Regions from separate parts of the Homo sapiens genome. Here region 2 is linked to region 1. Evidence: promoter capture Hi-C in human tissues and cell types (Jung and others, 2019). All regions are on one chromosome and are shown on one strand. Each heading gives the region's core, a stretch centred on a gene start or on the middle of the fragment in contact. The rest is flanking DNA. Distances are from core to core; before and after follow the strand shown. Region 1 holds the start of EXOC3L4 (exocyst complex component 3 like 4). Region 2 has its middle 31 kb from the start of TNFAIP2.

What was found. The method cuts DNA at HindIII sites, captures the fragments that hold promoters and counts their contacts. A contact is called where the count stands out against the background at its distance.
Region 2: a contact is called between a fragment that was not itself captured here and the fragment with the promoter of EXOC3L4 in region 1, in 1 of the 25 tissues and cell types used here (IMR-90 fibroblasts).

The regions. Positions count from the first base shown.
Region 1 is chr14:103,091,528-103,097,507 of GRCh38, reverse strand. It overlaps EXOC3L4 (exocyst complex component 3 like 4), which reads right to left and starts at 2,783. Exons shown (of 12, transcript NM_001077594.2): 1 at 2,668-2,783. RefSeq lists enhancers at 2,205-2,774, 3,345-3,914, 5,388-5,567 and a silencer at 5,708-5,980. The HindIII fragment of the contact is 13,551 bases long and covers 1-4,104 here.
Region 2 is chr14:103,151,953-103,157,932 of GRCh38, reverse strand. No RefSeq gene overlaps it. Among named protein-coding and RNA genes, the nearest start is that of TNFAIP2, 31 kb to the right of the region's middle. RefSeq lists enhancers at 366-1,103, 1,104-1,842, 2,567-2,861. The HindIII fragment of the contact is 5,254 bases long and covers 1-5,230 here.

The DNA of each region.
Region 1 (5,980 bases), core at 1,534-4,033:
TGAGACCTGAAGGCCCCTCTCAACTCCCCCCTCCACCTCCCAAGGCTCTCGCCTGGCCTGTCCCTGTGCCTGCCTCCCCACACCCCCATGGACTCTCTCTGGCTCTCTTTTCTCTCTGCGTCTCTCTGTCCCCAGTGCCCGGAGAGTCCAGGGGGCCCCGGCTCCTATGCTGCCGCTCCCTGATTGCAAGGCCCCAGAGACTGACGCCCGGCCTGAGCCCCGGGTCCCACTCTCCCCAGGTCAGGCTAATACACCCTTTGTGGGGCCAGCAGCAGGGGCAAGAAACCACCCAGAGACACAGTCACTGAGAGCTCCCACCCTGGGCCACCCTAGCTGTGTCCGAGAAGTCAAGTCCGAACTTCCCCACCCTCCCTACCCCCAGCCTCAGCTTCTACTCCCCGCTTTCCCCTAGACCTTCCCTCCCGTAGCTGCTCCTCATCCTCCCAATCACTCTGCAGTGCTCACCCACTCCCCAGCCTCCCCAACTACGCTGGGACTGGACCATCGCTCCACTCCTCAACGCTCCAAAGGAGCCTCTTGCAGGTGACTGCCTGTACTGTGCCCTGGGCCGAAGCCCTGTGCGGGGCTTGTCCCCTCTCACTTCCCCACCTGCCATCCACCTTCACCTGATCACAGCCTCCGAGCTGCTCTCCTTCCCAGGCCCCCTCAATGCTGCCTCCTCGGATCAGTCATAAGAATCTTGCCTAGCACTTAGACGGTCGTTGGCCAACCTCCCCAACAGCACTTGGGTTTTCCTGTTGAGAGGGGGGACTGAGACAGAACTAGCTGGATTTCCTAGTCCGACTAAGAATGCCTAAGCCTAGCTGGGAAGGTGACTGCATCCATCTTTAAACATGGGGCTTGCAACTTAGCTCACACCCGACCAATCAGGTATTAAAGAGAGCTCACAGAAATGCTAATTAGGCAAAAACAGGAGGTAAACAAATAGCCAATCATCTATCGCCTGAGAGCACAGTGGGAGGGACAATGATCGGGATATAAACCCAGGCATTTGAGCTGGCAACAGCTACCCTCTTTGGGTCCCCTCCTTTTGTATAGGAGCTCTGTTTTCACTCTACTAAATCTTACAATTGCAAAAAAAAAAAGAATCTTGCCAAAACGTCAACCTCCTTTGTTTATTGTTTTTAGAGACGAGGTCTCGCTGTGTCACTTCACCCACTGCTGGAGTGCAGGGATGCGATCATAGCTCACCACAGCCTCAAACTCCTGGACTCAAGCAGTCCTCCCACCTAAGCGTCCCAAGTAGCTGGGACTACAGGTGCGCAACACCATGCCTGGCTAATTTTTATATTTTTTGTAGAGACAGGGGTCTCATTATGTGTGCCCAGGCTGGTCTCAAACTTCTGGCCTCAAATAATCCTCCTGCCTCAGCCTCCCAAAGTGCTGGGATTACAGGAGTGAGCCACCATGCCCGGCCCTATAAACCTCCTTTGAAAGCTTTCCTTGCAAGCTTTCCTTTTCCTTCCAGCCCCTGCAAATAAGGAAAATGACAAGGATGTTTGTTCTCACCATTCTTACTCCTCAACATTTGGCTGGAAGAACTAGTTAAGGCAATAAGGAAAGAAAAATAAATAAGAGATGTAAACACTGGGAAGGAGCAGATTAAACTGTCATTATTCATAGGTGATATGATTGTTGGCTTAGAAAATCTGAGGCTGAAAATTATTGGAGCTAATAAAAGGGTTTAGTAAATTTTGTGCATTGATTATGTAAATACAAGCAACACCTTTCCTATACCCTAGCAAAGCCTATTAGAAAGAGACACTTAAAAGACTTCCCTTCACAGTAGCAACAAAGCATAAGCCCCCTGAGCCGCTGCTGCCCTCGGAAGAAGCACAGCTCCATCCTTAGCTTGGCATTCAAGGCCTCTCCTAATGACCCCTCTGGCTTCAGTCCCAACTCATTCCCTCACTCTGATCACTCAGAAGTACCCACCTCTCCTCCACACCTTTGCACAGGCCATCCTCTCTGCCTACAATGACCTCAGCCCCTCCTTCTTCAGTTGTCAACTCATTGAAGGCTCAGCAGAAATGGCTCCTCCCCCAAGAAGCCTTCCCGGACCAGCTGAGCCCATACCATGTTCGGCACCTCCTGCTGTGGGCCTGATCCCAGCCCTGGGCACACCTGCCATGACGGAGGGACAGTTACAGAGCCTGGAGACCAGGAGACCCGCAAGGCAGGGAGTGAGCCTGACTCAGCCCCCAGCCATGGCTAGTACTCGGCACTTTCCCGGGGAAACCAGGAAAGTGAATCTGATGCCTGAGCTTGAGCGCGCGGGCATATACACACTTTTCTGGGCGTCGGTTTTGCACATCTGTGTGTTGGCCTGAGAGTGTCTCCCTGTATGTGCATGACTCTGCCCTGGAGTGTCCCCAGAGGGTCTGCCAGTGCTTCTGAGTCTGTGTCTGTGCCTGCATGCCCATCTTGGTGTCTTCTGTGTCTGTCTATCTGTGCTTTCTACCTGAGTGTGTCTGCCTGTGTATCGGGTGTGTGTGTGTCCACTGTGATTTGCGCTGGCCCTCTGGCCTGGTCGGCCTGGGCTCTGAGTGAGGCCCTTGGCCTGGAAGGCCACACGCAGAGCCGGAATGGTCCTCAAGCCCGCCCACAGCACCCCATGCCCTCCTGCTCCACCTGCCCAGAACATACCTGCTGAGCACGCAGCCTTGGCCCAGGAAGAACACAGCCCCCTGAGAAGCTGGCCCGTGGGGCCCTCAGAGCCGGGCCCTGGCTATGGGGCCTCTAGAGCAGCCTGAGCGAGTGACCAACAGCTGGGACTTCCCAGCCATGGTCAGCGCCTGCCAGGCCCACCCGGCCCCACCCACAGCCCTACCCTCCACCAGGACCCCATACTTTCACTTTCAGAGAAGTTCCCACTTCCTTTTCGTTCCGGAGGCAGTCACTCCAGCTTTCCATTCCAGACAGCTCAGGGCTCAGTCCAAGGGTCAGAGAACAAGGGAGGGGAAGGCTGCGGAGCTCGGCACTCAGGGTCTCGAGGCAGCAGGGGGTGGACGCTGCCTGCCACCCAAAACACCACCAACCTCTCCTTTGCTCAGAGGCCAGCGGAAGCAGGCGCTGGCCTCGGGGGACACTCAGCCCACAGTGCCGGAGCCCAGAAGGACCCCTCCCTCCAGGACAGAGGCTCTAGCACTGGGCCAGTCCATCGAGTTCATCCCGAGACCCCTGCACCCTGCCTGTCAGGGAAGCTCACGGTGACAGCAAAGGCAGCAGTTGAGAGCCACATGCCATTCCTGGGGGCTTCAGGAGCTAGAGAAAGGGATGGGGCCCTAGGGACAGACAGGACACACTCAGAAGTGAGAAGGGACGGCATCCTGGGCAGGGGCAAAGATGTGGAGGCGGGGCCCCACTCCCCACACCAGGGGGTCAGGCGGGCAACGTGCCGCAGGGAGGGCCACTGACACTTCCCAGAAGAGGCAGCCTCACCCCTGCATAGGGGGATTCCGCAGCGAGCGTCTTAGGAAACAACTCAGGGAAAATCCAAGGAGAACGGATCCAGGCCTGTCCCAACCTGGGCTGGGGCCACCAGGGTGTGTGATGGGGCTGCTGCAGGGTGCTGAGGTGGGCAGAAATAGCCTCCTGCACCAGCATCCTCTGGCTGAGGGCAGAGGTGGCCCCGTGCAGCAGCATCCTAGGACTGAGGGCAGGGAAGGCCCCATGCACCCAGTGTCCTAGGGCTGAGGGCAGAGACAGGCCGGTGCACCAGCATCCTAGGACTGAGGGCAGGGACGGCCCCATGCACCCACTGTCCTAGGGCTGAGGGCAGAGACAGGCCAGTGCACCAGCATCCTAGGGCTGAGGGCAGGGACGGCCCCATGCATCCAGTGTCCTAGGGCTGCCACGACAGGACCAGGGACTGAGCCTCAACAACAGACGTTTATTCTCTCCCAGTTCTGGAAGCCAGAGGCCCACAGTCAAGGCATGTGTGGGGCTGGTTTCTCCTGGGGCTGTTTTCTGGGTCTGTGGGTAGCGCCCCCCCTTCTTCCTGGGTCAACACAGGGCCTTCCCACTTCGTGTCTGTGTCCATATTTCCTCTTCATATGGGTTGGGGTCCACCCGAATGACTTAATTTTAACTTATTACCTCTTTAAAGGTCACGTGTTTTTATAAGGAATTTTCCAAATAAGGTCACATTCTAAGATTGGGACTTCAACATACGAATTTTTTTTTTTTTTGGAGACGGAGTCTCTCTCTGTCACCCAGGCTGAAGTACAGTGGCGCGATCTCAGCTCACTGCAACCTCTGCCTCCTGGATTCAAGTGATTCTCCTGGATTCAAGTGATTCTCCTGCCTCAGCCTCCTGAGTAGCTGTGATTACAGGCACGCACCACCACACCCGGCTAATTTTTGTATTTTTAGTAGAGTCGGGGTTTCACCATGTTGGCCAGGCTGGTCTTGAACTCCTGACCTCAGGTGATTGGACTGCCTAGGCCTCCCAAAGTGCTGGGATTACAGGCGTGAGCCACCGCGCCCAGCCCAACATACGAATTTTATGGGGGAAAAGCAGCCCATAACAGACTGGAAGGTGCCTGAGATGCTGCAGCACCATCTGCAGAGGGGCCAAATTAGACTCAAAGATGCCAGCACCTCCTCCAGGAAGCCCTCCAATTAACCACTTGAGTCACTACCCTGAGCCCTGGGTTCCCTCTGTGAAGTGGGGTGCTAAGAGTCCCACTTCAAGCCCGAGAGGTGCCCAGCAGCCCATAGGCCCTTCCTCCCAGCCCAGTCCCACCTGCTGGCCTGAGTCCCACCCCACCTGTCTCCAACAGGCAGAGATGAGGGGTAACAGGGAATAAGCAAAACTGAGCAGAGACAGCCGGGGTCCAAGGTGGCTGGCTCCCCAGGGCTCAGTGACCTGCTCTCGGCCACACAGGTGCCCAGAGAGGCCAGGACTGCGACCTAGGTCTCTGGCTCTGTGGACTGGGTCTTCCCATACAGCCAGGCCTTGGTGGACTGGAGACTTCCCGGTCTAATTCTCCCACCCGCCCCCCAGCTCCCAGGGCATGTTGGGGTCCTGGGACCTCCAATTATGGGTCGCTCCATTCAATACACAGGTGCCTGAAAAGCTGGTGGTGCCCAGGGCCTGGGGACTGCTCCTGGAAGTCCCCTCAACTCCCATCTGCTCTCCACAGGCACCTGAGCCTGTGCCCGCTTTTCAGCATGAGGTTGCAATGTTTCTTTCATGCTATGTCCATGTTTTCCCGAAGTTTCTCAGTAAAATCCCTTTGGAAAAACCCCAGCCTTATCTCAAAGAAGCCTGGGTCACGAGGTTGGTCTGGGGTCAGGAGAAGGCCGGGTGGGGAGCCGTTAGGAGGGAGAGGCCTAGCCAGGGACACCCACCAGAGGGCAAGCCCAGCTCCCCACGACCTTGGAGAGGCACCTCAATCTCTGAGCCCCAGTTTACTCCTCCAGAAAATGGGATTGTCGTCGGGATCAAATGGGTTCACCTTGGCTGAGGACCTGGCTCCCAGGTAGGGAAGGCCAGGGAGCAGGACCCCCACCACCAAATGCTTGCCTGATCTGGGGCTCACTGAGAGGCCAGGCTGTCACACCCGGGGTGTAGAAGCCAGAGGCGGCCGCTTCCACCCTCACTGCTGCCGGGACCAGCGTTAAGCGCAGCGTGAGCACCCAGAGGCCCAGGCTCCCTCCCTAACCGGAAGCGGCTGCGGGCAGCGGGCAGCAGACCACTCTGCCCCAACCCCATATTGCAGGGTTGAGGTGGGAGCCCGGGCGGTGGCCCCAGCCGACGCCAGGGGGAGCCGCAGAACGACTCCCGCGGGGCGTCCCCAGGTCACCGCGTGTGGGGGGGCGGGACGGGGTACCGGGGACGGGACCTCGCTGGCACCGCCCCTGGCGTCTCCGCCCGCGGGCTCTGGGCGTGGCTGGGCGGTCTGGGCCCCGGCTCGCGGTGAAGGGCGGCGGGGTGGGGCAGCCCCCCGCGGTC
Region 2 (5,980 bases), core at 1,354-3,853, 61 kb before region 1:
CTCGTGCTTCACCTGGCATTGGTAAGGGTCCTCAGAGGGGTCTCAGCTCAGGAGTAGGGAAAGTTAACCCTAGGCTTGATGCTGCTTGGGTCTCATCTAATGGAGTTCTCATGCAAGACCCAAAGGGCCAATCTTTCCAAGTAACTTGGAAAAAGTAACTCGGTGCCTTGATCTGAGGGGATCGTCCGACGGAAGCTCCAAGTTTTTAAATTTTTTTCAGAGACAGGGTCTCGCTCTGTCACCCAGGCTGGAGAGCAGTGCTGCGACTGTGGCTCACTGCAGCCTCAAGCTCCAAGGCTCAAGCGATCCTCCCACCTCGGCCTCCTGAGTAGCTGGGACCACAGGCCCATGCCACTAAACTCGTGCTTTTTAAAAAGAAGGTTATATGTTGACATGATTACAAGACTTCCCAGATTTCAAAAGTGTTTCAACCAGCACTTTGGTGAAAAACGTTGGAGTCTGTGTTTCCCTCGCACTGACTTTTTGCATTGCTTGGTGTTAGCGAGCTGCCCCGCCTCCTCTGTAGTGAGAAGTGGGTCATAAATCACCCACCCGTGGCTCAGAAGAAGTACTCAGGACCTGGGTGAAGGGGCAGGGAAGGGATGGACCCGGGAGAGGGCTTGTCCCACCACTAGGGTGAGAAAGCAGCTCCGCGGAAGGGAAACTGCGCCTCTGCAACTCCCCAGAGAGCCTCCCGCAAGGCCTGGACCTGGCTGAGTCCCCGCGTGCCCTGGGGTAGGGGCTCCCATAGCCCCCAGAGCTTCCTCTACAGCCAGTTTGTGCTGCCCACAGTGGGCCGGGGCCTCTCCCCCTGGGAAGCTGAGTGTCCCACAGTCCTGGGCAGTCCTTGGGGCCACCACCTGGCAGAGGTGCTCCCTGTAGTGGTCACAGCCTTCGCTGGAGCTGCCTGAGGCTGTCCTGCCTTTCCCAGGACTTCGCTGGGACTGCTGGCCTTTGGAGGAAGCTGGGAAGCACCTGAGCACTCGGGAGAGACTGGGCTAGTCTGGAGCTGTCTCTTGGTCCCCAGGGTGAGGGATGGGAGGGCTGAAGCTTGGTGAACAGGCTCGACCTGGACACATGTCATTGAGACAGCATCTGAAAGGGGCAGGCAGAGCCGTGACAGCCGGGACTTCCAGGGCGTTGCCACCAGCTATGGGGGAGTGTGCTGGGCCGTCCCGCTCCTGGGGAAGGATTTTCCATGTTCTCGTCTTACAGGAGAGAAAAGAGCCGACGAGAGACCCAGCCAAGTCCGTCCCAGGGGCTGTGTCACTCTGCTTGGGTATCCCAGGGGTGACCCAGCTTCTGTCCCCTGCCCAGCTGGCCCCAGTTCTGCTTCCCGGGGACTCAGACCTTCCCTCCCTTCAGTGCAAAGGGGCAGGGTAGGTCCTGGGCCCGCAAGGCCAGGCCTCAGTTTCCCCTTCCTCGTGACAGATTTGGCCCCGCCGGCCCCTCAGCCCACCTGGCTTTTGTCCTTGCAGCCTGGATGCCCTATTTCCTTGGGGACCCCAACACTGTTTTTTCTTTAAGTGAATCTAGAAAAACACATGGCCACACAGCCCTTGCCAAACAATTCCAGAACAATCCTTGGATCGCTTTGGAAAAAGTAAGCATTCCCCTTCCTCTCCCACTCTTCTGAACTCCACCCACCCATGCAGTGGGAGCGACTGAGATGCTCGCTGCTTTCAGGGGAAAGACCTGGGGGCCGAGGGCACCTGACAGAGTTGCCCCTGCCCAGGCCTGCATGGGGTGAAGCTAGGCAGGGCCCTTCACTGCAAAAATGTTTGGGCTCGGGAAGGACCCCAGGGCTCCTGCACGTATGAGGGCCAGGCTATTTGACGGAGATGGGGCCAAGGTCATGGCAACGGGAGGATGTGGGAGGGTGGACAGAGTTGGTCCTAGGACATGGGTCCTGCCCTTGAAGTTCCAGACTCTGCCCAACCCTGAGAATCAGCTGCCTTCCGGGGGGGGAGCCCCTCTGCTGACCAAGCCTGCCCTGTCCCCAAATGAGCATGGCTGCCCCCAGCCCAGGCTCCTCCTTCAGGCCTCTCTGCCCCAAACCCAGGACAAGCTGCTCATTCACCCCCAACAGGGGCAGAAACCAGGCAGTGAGGGTGACAGGATTTTACTGTGGGATCAGGGATGGTGGAACAACAGAGCAACCCAGAGGACACAGGACAAGTGAAGCCTGAGCCCAGCCTGTCTTGGGGTCCGAGCCTGTCTTGGGGTCCGAGCCTGTCCTGGGGTCCCAGCCTGTCCTGAGGTCCGAGCCTGTCCTGGGGTCCCAGCCTGTCCTGGGGTCCGAGCCTGTCCTGGGGTCCCAGCCTGTCCTGGGGTCCGAGCCTGTCCTGGGGTCCCAGCCTGTCCTGGGGTCCCGGCCTGTCCTGGGGTCCGAGCCTGTCCTGGGGTCCCGGCCTGTCCTGGGGTCCGAGCTTGTCCTGGGGTCCCGGCCTGTCCTGGGGTCCGAGCCTGTCCTGGGGTCTGAGGCTGTCCTGGGGTCCCAGCCTGTCCTGGGGTCCGAGCCTGTCCTGGGGTCCCAGCCTGTCCTGGGGGTCGCACACTGGCCCCTCCCACTGCCCCCCTTGGTGCGCTCTGTGCCTCTGCAGGCCTGGAGTCTGGACCAAAGTGCCTGACAGTGCTGGCCTTTGAAAAGGGAAGGGCCTGCCAGGCTCAGCCTCCAGGCTGCCAGGGCCCGGCCCTGACCTGGGTTGAACTCTTCATGGATGAGCTGGCAGAAGGACTGACCAACCTCGTGGGGAGATGTCCCAGCCCGGCCCTCAGGGAAGGTCCCACCCTCTGGCCTCAGCACACAACCAGCCATGTGACAGGTTCATACTCAAGAAAAATCCTAGGCACCCTTATTTAAGTAAAGCCGTAGGAATTTATTATATAGACTTTAAAAAATTTTTTTCTAGTTTTAAAAGCACTTCTTATAGAAAATGTTCAAATTAAATATCAAAATAAGAAATTTTAAATTACTCAAGCACTACAGGCATGAATATGTCTTAAATGCCTTTCCCCACTATATTTATGCAAAATACCATCTTGTTTGCAAAAATCTATACAGAGAAGACTCACCCACCATCCCACACATTTTAAAGGATTACGTGAAGTACAGATTGGATCCTGCCACCTTCCCCTTCCCCTTGAACATTTTGGTGCCAACGCATCTATATTAGCACAGCCATTCTGCACAGATACTGTTCTACAAATTTGCATTTTTCACTAATGTCATGTCACGGATGCTTTTCCAGATCAGTGGAAACAGATCTGCCTCCTTGTGTGAATGGCCACACTGCATTGTGTAGTATAACTGTTTTCCTCTTTCCTTCTTGCTGGATAGTTTGGGAGTTTCTAGTTTTCCCTACAACGAGAATCCTTGTATGAATAATGACAAAGGTTTGTCCTATTATTTCTGATAACATACATTCCCTACAAGTAGAATTATTACCTCAAAGATACTGTTCAATATCTCTTTATTAAGATACAAAATCTCTCTCTTTTTTTTTTTTTTTTTTTTTGAGAAGGTGTTTTGCTCTTATTGCCTAGACTGGGGTGCAATGGCATGATCTTGGGTCACCACAACCTCCTGGGTTCAAGCTATTCTCCTGCCTCAGCCTCCCGAGTAGCTGGGATTACAGGCGTGCGCCACCATGCCTGGCTAATTTTGTATTTTTAGTAGAGACGGGGTTTCTCCATGTTGGTCAGGCTGGTCTCGAACTCCCGGCGTCAGGTGATCCACCCACCTCGGCCTCCCAAAGTGCTGGGATTACAGGCGTGAGCCACCGCACCCAGCCTAGGATAAGAAATCTCTTTACTAAGGTAAAAACATTTCAGCAGGGATGCAAACCATCTCGTTTTTCTGAGGACTCTCCCAGGGACCTGTATGGCTTAAGAATCCAGAAATGTGATTATAACAGGGCTACTAAGGCAGCAGGTTATCAAGACAATCAAGCAGAATCCCAGGATTTGTTTGTTTGTTTGTTTGTTTTGAGACAAAATCTTGTTCTGTCTTGCCCAGGCTGGAGTGCCATGGTGTGATCTTGGCTCACTGCAGCCTCTGCCTTCCGGGTTCAAGCGATTCTCCTGTCTCAGCCTCCCGAGTAGCTGGGATTACAGGCGTCTGCCACCACACCCGGCTAATTTTGTATTTTTAGTAGAGACGGGGTTTCTCTACTAAAGGAGTTCAGGGTTTCTCAAACTCCTGACCTCAGGTGATCCACCCGCCTTGGCCTCCCAAAGTGCTGTGATTACAGGTGAGAGCCACCGCCCCCAGCCAGAATTCCAGGTTTTTATTTGAAGTTATTTTCAAAAACCATGGCCTCAGACTCTAAAGCCTTAGAAACACTGCAAGGCTCTTCTGTTTCAATAACAGTTCATGGTAATCAAGAGATTGGAAAGCTGATAACAGTTACAAAGTTTCACACAAGTTCTAATTTCCTATAGGAAAACAAGATTTATACTCTTGTAAATGGTCTTAATTCCACACCTTATCCAATCAAATTCTGTGATCAACCTTTATCATTTGGAATATCTCTCCTCCACGGTTTCAGGGGAAAGGAGAAATCTTTAACCCTCTCTTAGATTTTTTTTTGTTAATGCACATTTTCATTTTTAAGGAGAGGATCTGAAAATTCATTAGTTACCTGAGAAGCAAAAAGCAAACCCATGGAATTCGGTTTTACCCAGTCAAAAATGAAATGCATTAATAGGATCTTAGTTATAACAGCTGAAGGACGAGCAATATAATTTTTCTTCCGCAAAGAACAGAAACACTTTTCAAATGAATAGTTCAAAAGTTAATTCCATATGCCAATTCATTCTTTCACAGATAGGGAGCTGGCTTCCTTACAAGTTGCCAGGACTAGAGGCAATTACCTTGCTTGGTTTTTTGTTGTTGTTGTTTTTTGAGATGGAGTTTCGCTCTGTCGCCCAAGCTGGAGTGCAGCGGCACGAACTCCGCTCACTGCAAGCTCCGCCTCCCGGGTTCACGCCATTTTCCTGACTCAGCCTCCCGAGTAGCTGGGACTACAAGCACCCGCCACCACGCCCGGCTAATTTTTTGTACTTTTAGTAGAGACGGGGTTTCACCGTGTTAGGCAGGATGGTCTCGATCTCCTGATCTCGTGATCCGCCCACCTTGGCCTCCCAAAGTGCTGGGATTACAGGCGTGAGCCACCGTGCCCGGCCACCCTGTTTGTTTATTTTTTTGACAATCTGATGGGACCAAAAAACTAATGTTTTATGATTTTTAAACAACTTTATTGAGATATAACTGACATGCAATAAACTGCACATATGTAAAGTATGTGTTTAATTAATTTGCACATGTGTATATACTTGCGAAAGTATCACAACAATCAGCATAATGAGCATATCCACCACCACCAAAGGATTCACCATGCGCCTGGGTGACCCATCCCTCTCATCCTTCCCTGCTCCCCCACCTCCAGCTACCATCTGATCTTAGTTGAATAGTTAATATTTATAATGGCGGCCGCCAGGCCATCTCACTCACGGCTTTGGGGGCATCATTTTGCACAGCCCCTGTGGAGGGTGATTTGGGCTCATGGATCAGGCTGACAAATGCAGGAACCTGTCAGCCAGCCATTCCCCTTCCAAGAATGTATCTTATTCATTCTCTAACAGCTATGCAAAGTGGCCGGGTGCAGTGGCTCACTCCTGTAATCCCAGCACTTTGGGAGGCCAAGGCAGGCGGATCACTTAAGGCCAGGAGTTCGTTCGAGACCAGCCTGGCCAACATGGTGAAACCCGGTCTCTACTAAAAATACAAAAATTAGCCGGGCATGGTGGCAGGTGCCTGTAGTCCGAGCTACTCAAGAGGCTGAGGCAGGAGAATCACTTGAACCCAGAGGGCGGAGGTTGCAGTGAGCTGAGATTGCACCATTGCACTCCAGCCTAGGCTACAGAGCGAGACTCCAACTCAAAACAAACAAACAAAAAACAAAACAAACAAACAAAC